5 separate regions of the Homo sapiens genome follow, and all the other regions are linked to region 4. The links are contacts of gene promoters, found by promoter capture Hi-C in blood cells and fetal thymus (Javierre and others, 2016). All regions are on one chromosome and are shown on one strand. The core of a region is centred on a gene start or on the middle of the fragment in contact, and the rest is flanking DNA. Distances in the headings are between cores, read along the strand shown.

Region 1 (2,700 bases), core at 2-2,501, 1.2 Mb after region 4:
CCTCATCCCCAAAAACAACCTGAGGAGGCCGTTGGAAAGCTCCGAGTTGACAAGTCTCATCCACGCACATGCTCGGTGCTTCCAATCGGTGATCAAGACCACTGCTCTTCATCCAGAGCAGGCAGCAGGGATTCCCAGGTATCCAAAGAAACCAAAACAGGCGGTGTAATTTAGGACTGACTAAGTAATGGCTCGGCCACTTTTAAGTGTGGAAGCAAAACTGACCCCACAGATTTAGAAAACTGTAACACTGCTTATTGGGAGAAACTAGTGTCACCCTGGCTAGTTCTGCTCCCCAAATTCAAAGGTAAATAAACGGTTGAGCATGTCCGATCAGCCTGGAGGGAAACCTCCACCCCCGACTTTGTAGGACTGACATCTGAAGACGTCAGAGACTGCGGTCACAACCGTCGGTACCTCCTTAGGGCGCTTAACAGAGGTCAAAGATGGCCCTCGCACCCTCCTGGCGGGAGAAAGCCCAGGCTCAGGGTGGTCTTCTACACCACCGCCTCTCCCGGGTCCACTTGGAAGCGAGTCCCAGCGAACTACTCGACCTAGGAAACCACTGGGCCGCCACTTCCAGCCTCTTCGGAAGTCGAGGCAACGCTCCTGAACGTTGCCACGGGAACAGCTGGAGGCGGGCGGATATGCCCTAGCGTTATCTAGGGGCTGGCCCGGGGAATGGCGTGGGGGCGGCGGGGCCAAGCAAGCGCCACCTCTGATTGGGCAAAACCCCCTCCCCTCACCTGCCAATAGAAACCGGCCCACTGTACAGACGCGCAAGTTTATAACCCGGGAAGAGCTGCTCTCAGAGCGGAGGGAGACCATATAACCCTGGGACTCTGCCGTACCTCCTAGAGGAACAGAGCGCCTCTCAGGCGTCAGAGGCTGCTGCAAATGCGGGTCAGCGGGTCACGGTCGCGCCTGTCTTGCTGATGCTCATGGGAAATGTAGTTCAAAGGGCATGGGCGGTGCCTTCGGTGCAGGCGAGAGATTGGTCAGCGCGGCGTCGCCGGGGCAACACCCGGCTGAGGCGCCCCGCGTTGTGCGGCGCCACATCCGGGAAGCGGCCTCCAAGCAACCGCTCCGGGTTGAGGTGAGCGCAGGCTGCCAGAGTGGGCGCAGCCTTTCCACCCCGTGGGAGGGCTTGGGGTCGCCCTCTGGGGCCTGAACGGCTCCTGCTGTCGGCGCCCTGGAGGGCCCGCCCACTTCCCGACAGGCCGCGCGCGTCACCTCAGCCTTCGCTCAGGCCTTTCCTACCCTCAACGCCGTTCCGGGGGGCCGGGCCTGGCAAGTCCTCTTGGAACGCCTCCCTCTTGCCTTCCCCTTTTGGGGACAGATCCCGAAGTTCGAGCATCCCTCGGATAGGCCGGGTGTCAGGCCTGGTCTCTCAGGCCCGTCCAGGTGGGCGTCTTTCACTGCAGACCTTCAGGGCCGGGATGCTGTGGCCATCCCTCGACTCCGCGCAACGTGGAGCTTTGGCCCCGTTTTTCTTGGCCTTTGCTTTTCGTTTTCACATGCACGGGCCCCGGCAGTGTGAGTCGCCCACGGCTCGCTGTGGTCAGCGAGCACGATGTCCACGTGCCCCCTCCCCAGAGCCATTCCTAAAGGAGGTCCCACCCAGTCAACCTCCCCGAGATTGTGGAGGGCGACTCGTCCCCGTACATTACAGCCTGGCCCCACCTTCTACCCGCCCACCCTGGTCCACTCTCCTCGCACCTCGGCTAGACACTGTGGCTCCTCAGCCTGGCGCTGGAACTCTGTGATGACTGTCTTTCTCCACCTCTTTAGCGTCATCTCCCAGCAGTCCCCTGCTGGACCCAACTGTTTGCAATTTCCAGGAAGCTCCCTGGACACCTTGCGTCCAAGCATTTGTCCCTGAGGCTTCCTCCTGCTCTCATTTGCCATCATTGTTTGGGTCCTGTGACCCTCCTCCTTCCATGAAGCTTTCTTGGCCTTATCTCTTCTGGCCTCAGAGTACACTTGGTCCTGGTCTCAGCCCCCTGGGCTGAGCCTGGTGTCTGCCTTCCCCTGGCCAGATTCTCTTGGCTGACATTCCGACCCTTCCTTTTCTGTAGGCCCATCTTGACGATTCCAAGACCACCCCCTTGAGCAAGAATGCCATCCCCTCTGGGTCCCCCATGCCTGCCCGTCATGGACCCAGAGACCACCCTTGAGGAGCCTGAGACTGCCCGCCTCCGCTTCCGAGGGTTCTGCTACCAGGAGGTGGCAGGTCCCCGAGAAGCCCTGGCCCGGCTGCGTGAGCTGTGTTGCCAGTGGCTGCAGCCTGAGGCACACTCCAAGGAGCAGATGCTGGAGATGCTGGTGCTGGAGCAGTTCCTGGGCACACTGCCTCCCGAGATCCAGGCCTGGGTGCGCGGTCAGCGGCCAGGCAGTCCTGAGGAGGCCGCTGCCCTAGTCGAAGGACTGCAGCATGACCCTGGGCAACTGTTGGGCTGGGTGAGTGTGGCTGGCATCAGCTTCTTGGAGGGATAGACCCTGGCTAGAGCCATTGTGACCTACCTCTTCTCCTCAGATCACAGCCCATGTCCTGAAGCAGGAGGTGCTCCCTGCAGCCCAGAAGACAGAGGAACCACTTGGGAGCCCCCACCCCTCAGGGACAGTGGAGTCCCCTGGGGAAGGTCCCCAGGACACCAGAATAGAGGGGTCTGTCCAGCTCAGCTGCAGTGTGAAGGAGGA
Region 2 (2,862 bases), core at 224-2,723, 1.3 Mb after region 4:
GGGATCTTACTATGTTGCCTAGGCTGTTCTTGAACTCCTGGGCTCAAGCAGATGATCCTCTTACCTTGACCTCCCGAAGTGCTGGGACTTACAGGTTTGTTCCACCATGCCAGCCCACAGGCTGTTTTTTAGGACTAGAAGACACTTCTCTCCCCTGTATCCTTCCCTTCTTCTACATGTGCAACCTCATTCCTGCGCTACAGCTCTCTCTTTACCAGGTGGATGGCACCTATACACCTACAGCCTGGGCATCAGCATCACTGCTGGCGTCTCCCCCTACCCAACGCCAGCCCTTACTTCACCTTCTATTCTCTCATCTACTTCGATGTGGCTCCTCATTTGGGCCCCACCATCATTCCCCTCCCTGCTTGGAAGCCTCACTCCACCTAATCCTCCATGTCAACCTGTGCAGTCACTTGTATGGCTCAGCTCCCAGGCAGCACCCTCTCTCCCTACTCAGCCCCATCTTCTAAGCCCAACATCACACTACGCAATGCCCCATCTCAGCTTCCTGATTTAGCTGGGGTTGGAAGGGGATGGGGGAGCTTCGCAATGGGTGGGGGGGCGGCAAAGGCTCCAAGACTGCCGGAACAGGAGCCTGCAAGGAAGTCCCGAGACTCTGATTCCGCCCATCTTCAGATCACTGTGCCTTCGAGAACTTGTTTCCCCATTTGCAAGTGGGGCTGACCTCCCTCCTCGCGCTGTTCCTTCTGCAGCTGCGGCTTTAGGAAGGAATCTGCGTTTATGAAGGGGATGGCACCGCAGAATCATTCCCCCGTGGGTGGCATCGATTTCGAGGGCCGCCTCATCCTGGGGGCCAAGCCTCCACTCTTCAAGGTGCCAAGTCAACCTGAAACCCTGGGAGAGACTTGGGTCATAGCCAAGATGGCAGGTACCTACGGAGGGTCCCGAAATACACTTCCCAGAAGTCCAGGCGGCAACTTCCGCTCCAGGGTGCCAAGGTAGGTCCAGACGACGCCTAGGCAACCGGGGGCGGGGCTCCCAAAGCCTGTCGTCGTGGCAACGAGTAGTGATTGACAAGCCTCTCGCTCTAGCCCTGGGCGCTCCCGCAAGGACTGCCCGGATTCGTTCCCCGCGCTTCCGGTCTCACTGGGGAGCCGGAATCCCCGAGTCTGCAGCCACCGCCCCCGTCCACACGATAGCCCTCCCGGTTAAGAGGACCCCGCCCTCACCTCTGCGCTCAGCGGGCCGCTCCGCGCTCCTGAGCACGCGCAGTCTTCGACTTCCCCCTCCCGCTGGACTACGTCTCCCAGGATGCTCCGCGCACCAGCTCGAGCGCCTCCTTGCCCTTCCCCCACCCTCGTCCCCGTTTCTACACCCTCTCCTCCCTTCCCCTAGCGGTGGTCGCAATGATCAGGTCATACTCCTGGCCGCTTCTTCCCATGCTCCCCGCCTCGAATCCGTGCGTCGGCATGCGCAAGCCTCTCAGGTACAACAGACGGCAGCACCGCCTACCAGATCGCGCATGCCCCCCACCACGTTTTCCTCACTTCTCTACGGGCCTTCCTGAGATTAGCAGGATCCTGCACCAATCACGGCCGTCATTAGAACTCCGTCGGTGCCCCACCGCGTCTCCATGGCAACTCCCTACAGGAAGGGGCCTCTGCTACTTCCTAGACCGCAAAATGGAGAAAGGCTTGGCCCGATGCTTTCCGGCAGATGTAGTCAGCAGGCCCTTCGTGTGTACGTGCGCGCGCGGCGCGATGACGTTCCTCTGTGATCATGGGCGAGGGGCGGGCCCTGAACGTCTCCATGGTAACCTGGGGACACGACTCGACATCGCCTGGGTAACCCGGAGACGCGGCGGGCGTTGAAAATGCAATGGGGCATGTGGGATGAAGAGGTGGGGAAGGGTACTGGGGCAGAGAGATGCCGATCGATAGAAACAGCGAGGAGAGACGGAGAGAGACCAGAGACTCAAGGGCAAAGAGAGACGAAGGACCGGCGGGAGGAAGAGAGAGAGAGACAGAGAGACAGACTCACAGACTGGGAGGACCGGAGACTCGACGCGAGGAGAGACAGTGAAAATAAGTGAACAAACATAGAGACACGGGTCCAAGTTATAAGAGGGCTGAGTGGATCAGAGGGTCAGGGCCGGGCAAACAGGTGTCAGAACAGTTAGCAAGAGAGAGGCAGATCAGAAAGGGATGCAGATGAAAGAGACACAAAGAAGGAAACGCAGAATGGGTTCACAGAGACAAGAAATGCAGATATCCAGACTCAAGAGGTAGACAAGAAGGGAGAGGGACAGAAACAAGAAGGGAGAAAAGGGACAGAAATTAGAGATACAGTAAGATGGATTGACAGTTTTCGAAGACCTAGAGAAAGATGACAGCACGAAGAGAGACAGGGAGAATCCGAGGTAAAACTGTTAGGAAAACTTAGGAGTCCAGATGCTGTCCAGTTATATGCTACCCTGTACAGGTTGATAGGTTGCAAATGCTTTCTGTCCAGTGTATCGCTTTGTAGCTCACTAAGCAGTTTTGTATCCAACTTTGTGCTTTTATTTCAGTGTTTTTCTTTTTCTTTCTTTCTTTTTTTTTTTTTTTTTTTTGACGGAGTCTCGCTGTTGCCAGACTGGAGTGCAGTGGCACGATCTCGGCTCACTGCAACCTCCGTCTCCCAGGTTCAAGCGATTCTCCTGCCTCAGCCTCCCGAGTAGCTGGGACTGCAGGCTGCTCCACCACACCCGGCTGATTTTTGTATTTTTAGTAGAGATGGGGTTTTACCATGTTGGCCAGACTGGTCTTGACCTCCAGACCTCTGGTGATCCGCCCACCTCGGCCTCCCAAATTGCTGGAATTACAGGTGTGAGCCACCGCGGCCGGCCAGTGTTTATTC
Region 3 (2,700 bases), core at 179-2,678, 1.2 Mb after region 4:
CCTTCTGTCATGATTGTGAGGCCTCTCCAGCCACGTGGAACTATGAGTCCACTAAACCTCTTTTTCTTTATAAATTACCCAGTCTCAGATATGTCTTTATCAGCAACGTGAAAACAGACTAATACACCAGGCATCGTGGCTCCTGCCTGTAGTTCCAGCTACTTGGGAGGCTGAAGTTGGAGGACTGTTTGAGCATGGGAGGCGGAGGTTGCAGTGACCCGAGTATGCACCACTGCACTCCATCCTGGGTAAGAGAGTGAGACCCTGTCTCAAAAAAAAAAAAAAAAAAGTAAAAAAAAATTGCTTGAAATGTTAATAATGCCTCTAAGCATTTGATTAAATCACAATAGTACTTAAGTGTTCTTAAATTCTTTCAAAGCAGGAAAAATTTAAATAAAAACATTCAAAAATTGTCGAGCTATCTTACACTATAGGGATCTACAAGTAGAATCAATTCTGTGGACAGTTATAGCTGACAGTAGACAGATATTTATAGATGGAGGTGGGTATAGAGGAAGACAAAATGAATTAACGTACTTGACATCTGAGAACTGTCTAAGGATCCTAAAAACAAGACCCTCACAGGGAAGCAACAAAGAGAGAATCGTTTATTCTCTGCCAACAACATGGTCAGTCTACATTGAGACTGCCCTGCCTTTTGTTGTTATGTGTCAAAGACACTTAGATTGGTCCAGAGAAAAAAGGAACAAAGCATCCATGTTGTGATGTGTGGGGCAAAGCAAGAACTAGATGGTCTAAGGACAAGCAAGGCTGGGGAATTACCTTCTGCTCGTCCAAGTTACAAGGAAAACAAGTTTTGGGCGAGCGTCCAAGAACAATCACAGAATCAAGACAAATGACAAGCGGGTAGTGTCATTACAGGCTGAGAATTCTTGGTGTAGAGGTTGAAAAACGGACCTTAAACCTTTACGGGACACTGACACACAGAGAGATCAAACCCTCGCCCAGGATGCACAGTCAGTGAGATGCAAAGCTGGGAAGGGAACCCGGAGCTCCAGGCATCTGCTCCTCCACCTACACCTGCCCTACCCGGTGCGTTTTCTCCTCCCTGCTACCTGCTGGTGTTGCCTTCTGGAACCTCCGCAGTTTCTGCTTTCACACCTGCAGGGTTTAGTCTCCAGGGCTGCTTAGGTGGGTGCCAGGAACTGGGAATCCCCAACGCGGGACAACCTGCCGGGCGACTCAACCAGTGCCACGGAGCCCTTGGAAACCCGCGGCAGCTGCGCTACTCCATTTCCAGGCGCCCAGCGCGGCGGCGCTTAGCCGTTGCCATGGAGACTGGTAATGGCCCCGCCTCCGCGCCGAAAAACAGGCAGGAACCACATAACCCAGAAGGCTGTGCGCAAGCGTCTGCGCGCGTATTGGGGCAATGTGAGCTCTGGGGGCTGGACTTCCGGCGTTGGGACTGTCACTTGGCTGCTCGCGTCAGGCCACACCGGTGGTCTGGGCTGTGGCGCGCGGGTCGGGGCCCGAGGCGGGCGGCCAGGAAGGTACGGACCACGAGCAGCCGGCCGCGCCCCCAAGCCTCGGTATCTTCGAGTATGACGTGGTCGGCCCGGGGGCGGTCGGGCCCCGGCGGGAACCACGCGTTCTCCCGCCCCGCGGAAGCCCAGGAGGCAGCGCATTGGGCATTCTGCGCCCATGACTGCCGGGCAGGCTGAGGCGCGGGGCAGCCGCGGGAGGCTGCTGGCGGGGATGGCGGTCCCGGGTGGTCCATGCCTTTCTTCCCTCCCAGTTGCGGGTTCCGCTGGCGGCGGTGGCGCTGACAAGCCCGCGCCGGGGGGGCGGGGGAGTCCCTGCTCACACAGACTGCGCCCCCACGGAGTGAGGCCGCTTCCTAGACCTCGCCTAGTCGTCTTTCCTCTCCCTGCCCTGGGGGGGTTGCGGGGGTCAGTGCAAACTCCTGCGTCCAGGGCACTGGTGAGCTCCCGACTTCCGGCAGCCAGGGGGCTGAGGTCCCGAAGGAGGCTCCGAGGGGAGAGTCCTGCGTGTGCAAAACCTGGGAGGGGAGCCGAAGCCCAGATGCTTCTGGGACTGAGCGCTCTCGATGTGGAGCTGGAGTAGAGGGGATGTGTGCGGCTGCAGTAGCAGGCGAGGGAGTGGGCTTTATCTCGAGGGCGTCGGGAGACATAGAAGTTTTGAACAGAATCAGGACATCCTCTGAGTTGGGACTTTAAAACGGTTCCACCGTTTGTTGCGTGGAGAACAGACATGCAGGGGTGTCGGCATGAAGGGAAGAACCGACTGCCACAGTCTGGGCAGCAGTGGAGGTGGGCGACCAGGTGAATTCTGGTGGATCTGCGGATGCATCAGGTGTGGGCTGTTTGAAGAACTAAGTACCCCATGTTGTTCAGCCTGAGCGCCTGGAAGAAGAGAGCTGCTGTAGATAGAAAGGAGAATTGAAAGGAAAGCAGGTTTCCTTCAGGGGAAAGATCAAGAGTCTGGGATGTCCCAGGTTGGTCATGTCACTGGACCTGACGTTGTTGGTGTCCTGGGCTGAGGACAGGGCCTATAAACTGGACTGAAGAAGGCGATGAGCAGTCAGGCGTGCGGAGTTACAGCTTGAGGGTAAAGAAAACCGGCTGGGGTGCCTGAGGCTATCAGGGGAGGAGTTCGGCAGGTGGCTGAATAGGAGAGGGTGGCAGCAATGTGGGAAAGAAATTGCGGGAGCGCTGAGAT
Region 4 (2,757 bases), core at 120-2,619:
CTCTCCAGCCTGGGCAACAAGAGTGAAACTCCATCTCAAAAAAAAAAAAAAAAAAAAAAAATTTAAGAGTCACAAATATGTGAAAAAGAGAATGATGTCTTTATCAATTTTCAAAAATTACTATTGCCAGTGATGAATAACAGTGTTCCTTGCACACTAATTTAGCCAAAAATATTTCTCCAAAAGTACCGCATCGTGTAGGAAATTGACTCCATCTCCATTCCTTGACTATTTTCAATCTCAAAATTAAATCTCTTGGAGAGTACTTTCTGCACACCTTTCTATTTCCTTAACCATATATATCGTCAAACCATTGAAAGCTGGACTTTATTCTCTCACTTTCATAGTCATGAAAAGAAAAAAAAAAAGTTACTGATGGGGACTCCTAAGACTTCGCATAATATAATCTTTGCATAGTCTAGGATTGTTAAAATTCCTAACAAGACTTTATAAACTCTCCTGTCTGCAACCAGTTAATGCTGGGTTGGGCCAGGGTTCCCCTCTTTCCCGTCACTTATCCATCTACGCTCATTCTTTTCATAGCCTCACCCAATATCATGACTTGAAGTAACAGTTTACAGTAATAACTCCCAAATTTATATATCCACGCTCGAACCCTCTGCCAATGTTGAATCATAGGTTGAGTATATGGCACTACGCTTTGTGGTCTTACTGACGTTTCAAACTGATCATGCTTGAAATGGGAGTACTGGGCTTCCCGGCAAGCCTGCTCCACTAGCAGCCTCCCCACCTCAGGGTACGGGAAGTCCACACGTGGCGAACGCGAAGCCTATTACATCACCCGGAAGTCCCTGCATCCTACGAAGGCTGGGCCCGGCCAAAGGAGGCCCAATAGAGGGCGGTCTGTCCTTTCCCAGCAGGCTGGGCACACTGTCAGGCGTCCTCCTTTGGGTGGCTATTTTAACTGCTCATTTATCCTTTTCTTCTATGAAAAGATCCAGAAAAGAGGCAAAGCAAGCGAGAAGTCGCGGGCCCAGCCCACAGCAGGGTAAGCACCTTTGTTCGGGGTCTGAATCGGGGCGAATATCCCCGCCTCCTGACCTCGATTTTCCTGAGCTAGAAGGGACCTTTCGACCCTCCGACTTGTGCCTATACTAAGGCGGTGGCCCTAAGACGACGCGGGGGTTCTGGTGCGCACTTACGTGCAGTCGGATGCGCTGGGTGAGTTCCCACACCCGGTAGATGTAAGGGAAAAACTGCATTACCCAGAAGGCACTGCCCCTTGCGTCGGCCGCGGACTCTGGGCCATTGACGACCCAGGACAGGAGAGTTTTCTGCGGGCCAGGGCGGCGGAGGCGGGACTTCCGCTTCTTCGTGTGACGTCATCTCCGTGGGCCGGTTTGGCCCTGAAACAGTGTGGGGCCTAGAGCGCTGGGTGGGCGCGTTCTGCGGCCTGAGCAGGGACGGGTAGTGAAGCGGTTACGCCCCTTCTTCGCGTCTTGGCGGGAGCCTGACGCCCCGCTTCTCCCCTAACGAGGTGTCCCACCGGCGCCCGCCGAGGCCTAGGCCTCCGCAGCCGCCCTCCGTCTCCTCAGCCCCGACGCTGCGCCTTGGGCCTTGTGCGCATTTTTTTCGGGGGAAAACTGAGGCTCGGAGTGCGAAAGTCAGCCGAGGTCGCCCCGCCCAGGACAGAGAAGGGCTGTGGTCGGCTGATCCGCGGCATTCCCGGGATGGCGGCGGCGTGGATGGCTCCGGCGCAGGTGAGTGGACGAGGTTTCGGCCTTGCTGCTGCTGTGCTATTTCTAGAGGCCTCGTGGGCAGGCTGGAAGCCAAGACAGCCACAGGATTTTTCTTTGTCGCCATCGTTTATTTAAGAGAAATGGCCGTGGCTTGTCATTTCCTTTATCCGCAGTCCTGCAACAGTGTTGGCCTCTGATAGGTGTTCAGTCCGTGGTTGAAGGAGTGATGCTTCCTTCTAGGGATCTCATCACACTTCCCCTAAATCCAACCTTCTCTGTTGCCTGCCAGCCCGTACCCCATCCACCTGGCCAACCACCCCTGACCTTGTCTGTTTGCATTTTTCCCTGGTCCTTTGCTCTTCAGAGCCACCAACCTGACCGTGCAGTCCTCTTCCATTTTCCAGGCTTTCTCCTTGCACTTCCTTTTACTTCGAACACTGCCCCTGTAACTTTGCAGGGCCTCCCTTTCACATCCTTTTGGCATCTGTCCAGGTGTCACCTATTTGGAGGTGCCTTTTTTGGCAATTCCGGCTAAAGTGGCACCTTACACCCTTGCCCAGAGTCTGGTATTTTTGTGTAGATAATCTGATGGTATTAAAGAAGCTTGTGGATTTGAGTTTGTCAAGGATGTAATGGGAACAAAGAAAAATAATTGCAAAGAATGATATTAACTGTCATTGAGTCCTTGCTGTGGGCTGATCGGTGAGTATTATTTAACCCTCAGTTCGTTTAACCCTGAAATTTTTTTTTTTTTTTTTTTTTTTTTTTGAGACGGAGTCTTGTTCTGTCGCCCAGGCTGGAGTGCAGTGGCGTGACCTCGGCTCACTGCAACCTCCGCCTTTTGGGTTCAAGCGATTCTCCTGCCTCAGCCTCCTGAGTAGCTGGGACTACAGGTGTGCGCCACCACGCCTGGCTAATTTTTGTATTTTTAGTAGAGACGGGGTTTTACCGTGTTGGCCACGCTGGTCTTGAACTCCTGACCTCAGGTGATCCACCCATCTGGGTCTCCCAAAGTGCTGGGATTACTCTTTAGAATTAGGTTCTGTTGTCATCATTG
Region 5 (2,785 bases), core at 277-2,776, 1.2 Mb after region 4:
GAGGCTCTCGCAGGAGTGGGGTGGCATGACCTGCTTCCTGGGCAGGGTGGTTCTGGGTGTGCCTAGTCACTAAGGGCTGAGGGTAAAAGGTTGGGCAGTACCTTGGGAGATGCCCCAGGGAAACCAGTACATGCTCCCTGGCAGCCCCTAGCATAGCGAGCAGGGAGGTGGCTCCTGCAGCCCCAGCTTCTTGCCATCTCGATGGGGCCTGTGGGGCCCAGGGTGTGGGTGTGGCACAGAGAGGGGAAGTGTGGATTGAGCAGGGGTGTGTGACTGGATAGCTGCCCATGGAGTAATCGGGGACACGGCCCAACATCAGGCACCAGAAAGGGGAGGGGGTAGTCCTCAGAGGACTCTGGAATCTGAGGAGTTCTGCTACTCCATCCATCAAGCAGGTAAACCGTGATCCTTCGGCCTGTTTCCCCTTCTATCAAACAAGGGATGAGATACTCGGCTCATCCCGCACCCAGACTGCACACACCTCCAGTCTAAGGGAGGAGGGTAGGAGCTCTGGACTCTGACATCCGTATAGGCTCCACCAGCCTGTCTCTCCCTTGGAGTCACAAAGCCCCAGGGTGGGCTCGGCTTGATGCTGCCCCTACACCCTCGGGCTCTACTGGGGTCTCAAGATTCAACCCCTCCGACTCCTTATGCCCAATCCGCCGTCCCTTTGCTCAGCCAGACGCCTCCCTTTTTTGCATGCCCCACATTTGACCCTCAGACCACTTCGAGCACCTCCACTGCCCCGTTCCCGCTGTCCTGGACGGATGAAGAAACCTGGCTGGTGTCTCTGCGCCCCTCGCCTCCCCTTCTGTTCCCCACACGGCAGCCAGAGGGAGCTTTTCCAGACTACGGATCCGGATACACCACCCCGCTCCCTGGCCCTGTTCTGAGCCTTCTGTGCAATGCCTCAAAAAAGCCAGGCCTGTGCCCGCGCAAAGGCTAACTCAGCAAGCAGCACCGCCCCATCTGTATTCACCTAGCACCTGAAAGGATTCTAATCTGTCCGGCCGATGGGGACGGAAACTTGCGCATCAACCCGAGAGACTTGAACCTTCCTTTCCCGCCCCGCCCCGCGACGGGCTCCATTCCTCAGTCCCGACGCCGCAAGGCCGGCCTGGACACTTCAGAACAAAGGCCTGCACTCGAGACCCGGCGCCCAGGCCAGCTTCCCGGGTCCGGCGCCGCACACTCCCGCCACGCCTTCGCCGCGCCGTGTGCTTTACTCCGAGCGCGTTCTCCCATACTCTGCTCCATTGCCCGCGCCCCACCCTACGCCCAAAGCACCCCTCTGACCCGCCGCTGCCACCCCGCACTCTGGCCCCCGCCGTACCCCGGTCCTGCAGCGCCCCCTCGCGTTCTCAGCGTGCGCTTCTAGCGGAGCGCAGGTGCCCCTCCCCTGGCACGCCCCAGCCTCCTCGCCCGCCCTGCGGCAGGGGGATGCCCATTCGACCCCACCTCCGACTCCTCTTCAGGCACCAGGCTCTGCCGTGGCCGCTTCCTCCTGACCGACTACAAGGCCGCACTTCCGGGCCGTTACCCCGGCGGAACGGAGGCCTGCGGTCGCGGCGGCGCAGGGGAAACCCTAGGCCGAAGCACGTTTCCGGTATTTTTATGGCGATCAGCTCCCGCCAGTCTGCACTCCGGCTCTCCTCTTAGTCGGAACCAAAGTCGAAGAGGCTAGGGCTGCCGCGTCGCGAGGAATGTCTGGACCAGAGCACTCTTCCGGCGTCGCCCAGGAGATCAGGGGTGTGGCGGGCCTGCGCGATCAATCCGCAAGCTCCCTGTGATGCAGAATGGGAAGGCAGTTCCCGGCCCAAGTGCCCAACGTGTTCTGGCCAGTTTAAACCCCACTGCGAACCGGGGAAGTGGCCTTATTCCTGTGACACGGGTGAGAGCTGAAGTAGGTCTCGGTCCCTGGCCGCCAGGAGGTGCAAGCAAGCTACCACTACTGCAGACGCTCCAGGCCCGCCCGCTGTGGGTGGGACTGGGGAAAGGACCCCATCTCGGCCTTGGCACCTTCTACTACAACGCAGACAGGAATAGACAACTGCCTCACCCTGCTCTGGGCCTCCCCTGAGCTAGACCCTGTGAGATTCTGGGACATTGCAAGTCAATCTGGTATGGGGGACAGAATTCCGAAAATGGCCCCCTCCGAGATTTCCGTGCCCAAATCCCCAGAACCTGTAAATATGATTATCTCACCTATGAATAGTTACACTACATGGTGAAAGGGTTTTTGCGGAAATAATTAAGGTTACTCATTAGCTGATCTTAAAATAGGATATGATTCTGGATTATTTTGGTAGGTCCAAGGTATCATAAGGGTCCTTAAAGGCAGAAGAGGAAGGTGGAGAAACTTGAAGTAGGAGAAGGGTTCCAGAGGCTTTGAAGGTAGAGAGGTCCATGAGAGGAAATGCAACAGGACAGGTGTCATGCTGAGAATCTGAGAAGAGCTGCAACAACAGCCAGCAAGAAAACAGACCTCATGGCCCGGCGCAGTGGCTCATGCCTGTAATCCCAGCACTTTGGGAGGCCAAGGCGGGTGGATCACGTCAGGAGATCGAGACCATCCTGACTAACACAGTGAAACCCCATCTCTACTAAAAATACAGAAAATTAGCTGGGCGTGGTGGCAGGCGCCTGTAGTCCCAGCTACTCGGGAGACTGAGGCAGGAGACTGGCATGAACCCGGGAGGCGGAGCTTGAAGTGAGCTGAGATCGCGCCACTGCACTCCAGCCTGGGCGACAGAACGAGACTCCGTCTCAAAAAAAAAAAAAAAAA

Evidence for each region. The method cuts DNA at HindIII sites, captures the fragments that hold promoters and counts their contacts. A CHiCAGO score of 5 or more calls a contact.
Region 1: the fragment with the promoter of ZNF446 here is called in contact with the fragment with the promoter of ZNF460 in region 4 in 5 of 17 cell types (fetal thymus, neutrophils, naive CD8 T cells and 2 more); the score reaches 10.8 in fetal thymus.
Region 2: a contact is called between the fragment with the promoter of MZF1 here and the fragment with the promoter of ZNF460 in region 4, in 6 of 17 cell types (activated CD4 T cells, fetal thymus, total B cells and 3 more). The highest score is 8.2, in activated CD4 T cells.
Region 3: a contact is called between the fragment with the promoter of ZNF324B here and the fragment with the promoter of ZNF460 in region 4, in 2 of 17 cell types (neutrophils and non-activated CD4 T cells). The highest score is 10.5, in neutrophils.
Region 5: a contact is called between the fragment with the promoter of ZBTB45 here and the fragment with the promoter of ZNF460 in region 4, in 4 of 17 cell types (neutrophils, total CD4 T cells, fetal thymus and 1 more). The highest score is 9.5, in neutrophils.

Annotation. Positions count from the first base shown.
Region 1 is chr19:58,475,101-58,477,800 of GRCh38, forward strand. It overlaps ZNF446 (zinc finger protein 446), which reads left to right and starts at 1,252. Exons shown (of 7, transcript NM_017908.4): 1 at 1,252-1,404; 2 at 2,079-2,460; 3 at 2,537-2,700. The coding sequence starts at 2,119. ZNF324 (zinc finger protein 324) reads left to right here. Exons shown (of 4, transcript NM_014347.3): 4 at 1-336. RefSeq lists enhancers at 341-430, 491-550, 791-1,040, 862-1,156, 1,311-1,510. The HindIII fragment of the contact is 6,419 bases long and covers 1-1,944 here.
Region 2 is chr19:58,571,862-58,574,723 of GRCh38, forward strand. It overlaps MZF1 (myeloid zinc finger 1), which reads right to left and starts at 1,474. Exons shown (of 6, transcript NM_198055.2): 1 at 1,194-1,474. MZF1-AS1 (MZF1 antisense RNA 1) reads left to right here. Exons shown (of 6, transcript NR_027334.2): 4 at 1-94; 5 at 717-962; 6 at 1,056-2,862. RefSeq lists enhancers at 179-1,040, 1,041-1,900, 1,269-1,358, 1,419-1,848. The HindIII fragment of the contact is 12,442 bases long and covers 1-2,862 here.
Region 3 is chr19:58,450,194-58,452,893 of GRCh38, forward strand. ZNF324B (zinc finger protein 324B) reads left to right here and starts at 1,429. Exons shown (of 4, transcript NM_207395.3): 1 at 1,429-1,511. RefSeq lists silencers at 1,135-1,461, 1,439-1,868. The HindIII fragment of the contact is 9,897 bases long and covers 1-2,700 here.
Region 4 is chr19:57,279,116-57,281,872 of GRCh38, forward strand. ZNF460 (zinc finger protein 460) reads left to right here and starts at 1,370. Exons shown (of 3, transcript NM_006635.4): 1 at 1,370-1,721. The coding sequence starts at 1,692. It overlaps ZNF460-AS1 (ZNF460 antisense RNA 1), which reads right to left and starts at 1,219. Exons shown (of 3, transcript NR_136529.1): 1 at 1,164-1,219. RefSeq lists enhancers at 566-1,505, 620-1,211, 629-1,828, 1,212-1,803, 2,732-2,757 and a silencer at 2,226-2,275. The HindIII fragment of the contact is 6,066 bases long and covers 1-2,301 here.
Region 5 is chr19:58,518,284-58,521,068 of GRCh38, forward strand. ZBTB45 (zinc finger and BTB domain containing 45) reads right to left here and starts at 1,527. Exons shown (of 3, transcript NM_001316979.2): 1 at 1,459-1,527. RefSeq lists enhancers at 1-434, 1,492-1,811 and a silencer at 1,302-1,401. The HindIII fragment of the contact is 4,202 bases long and covers 1-2,785 here.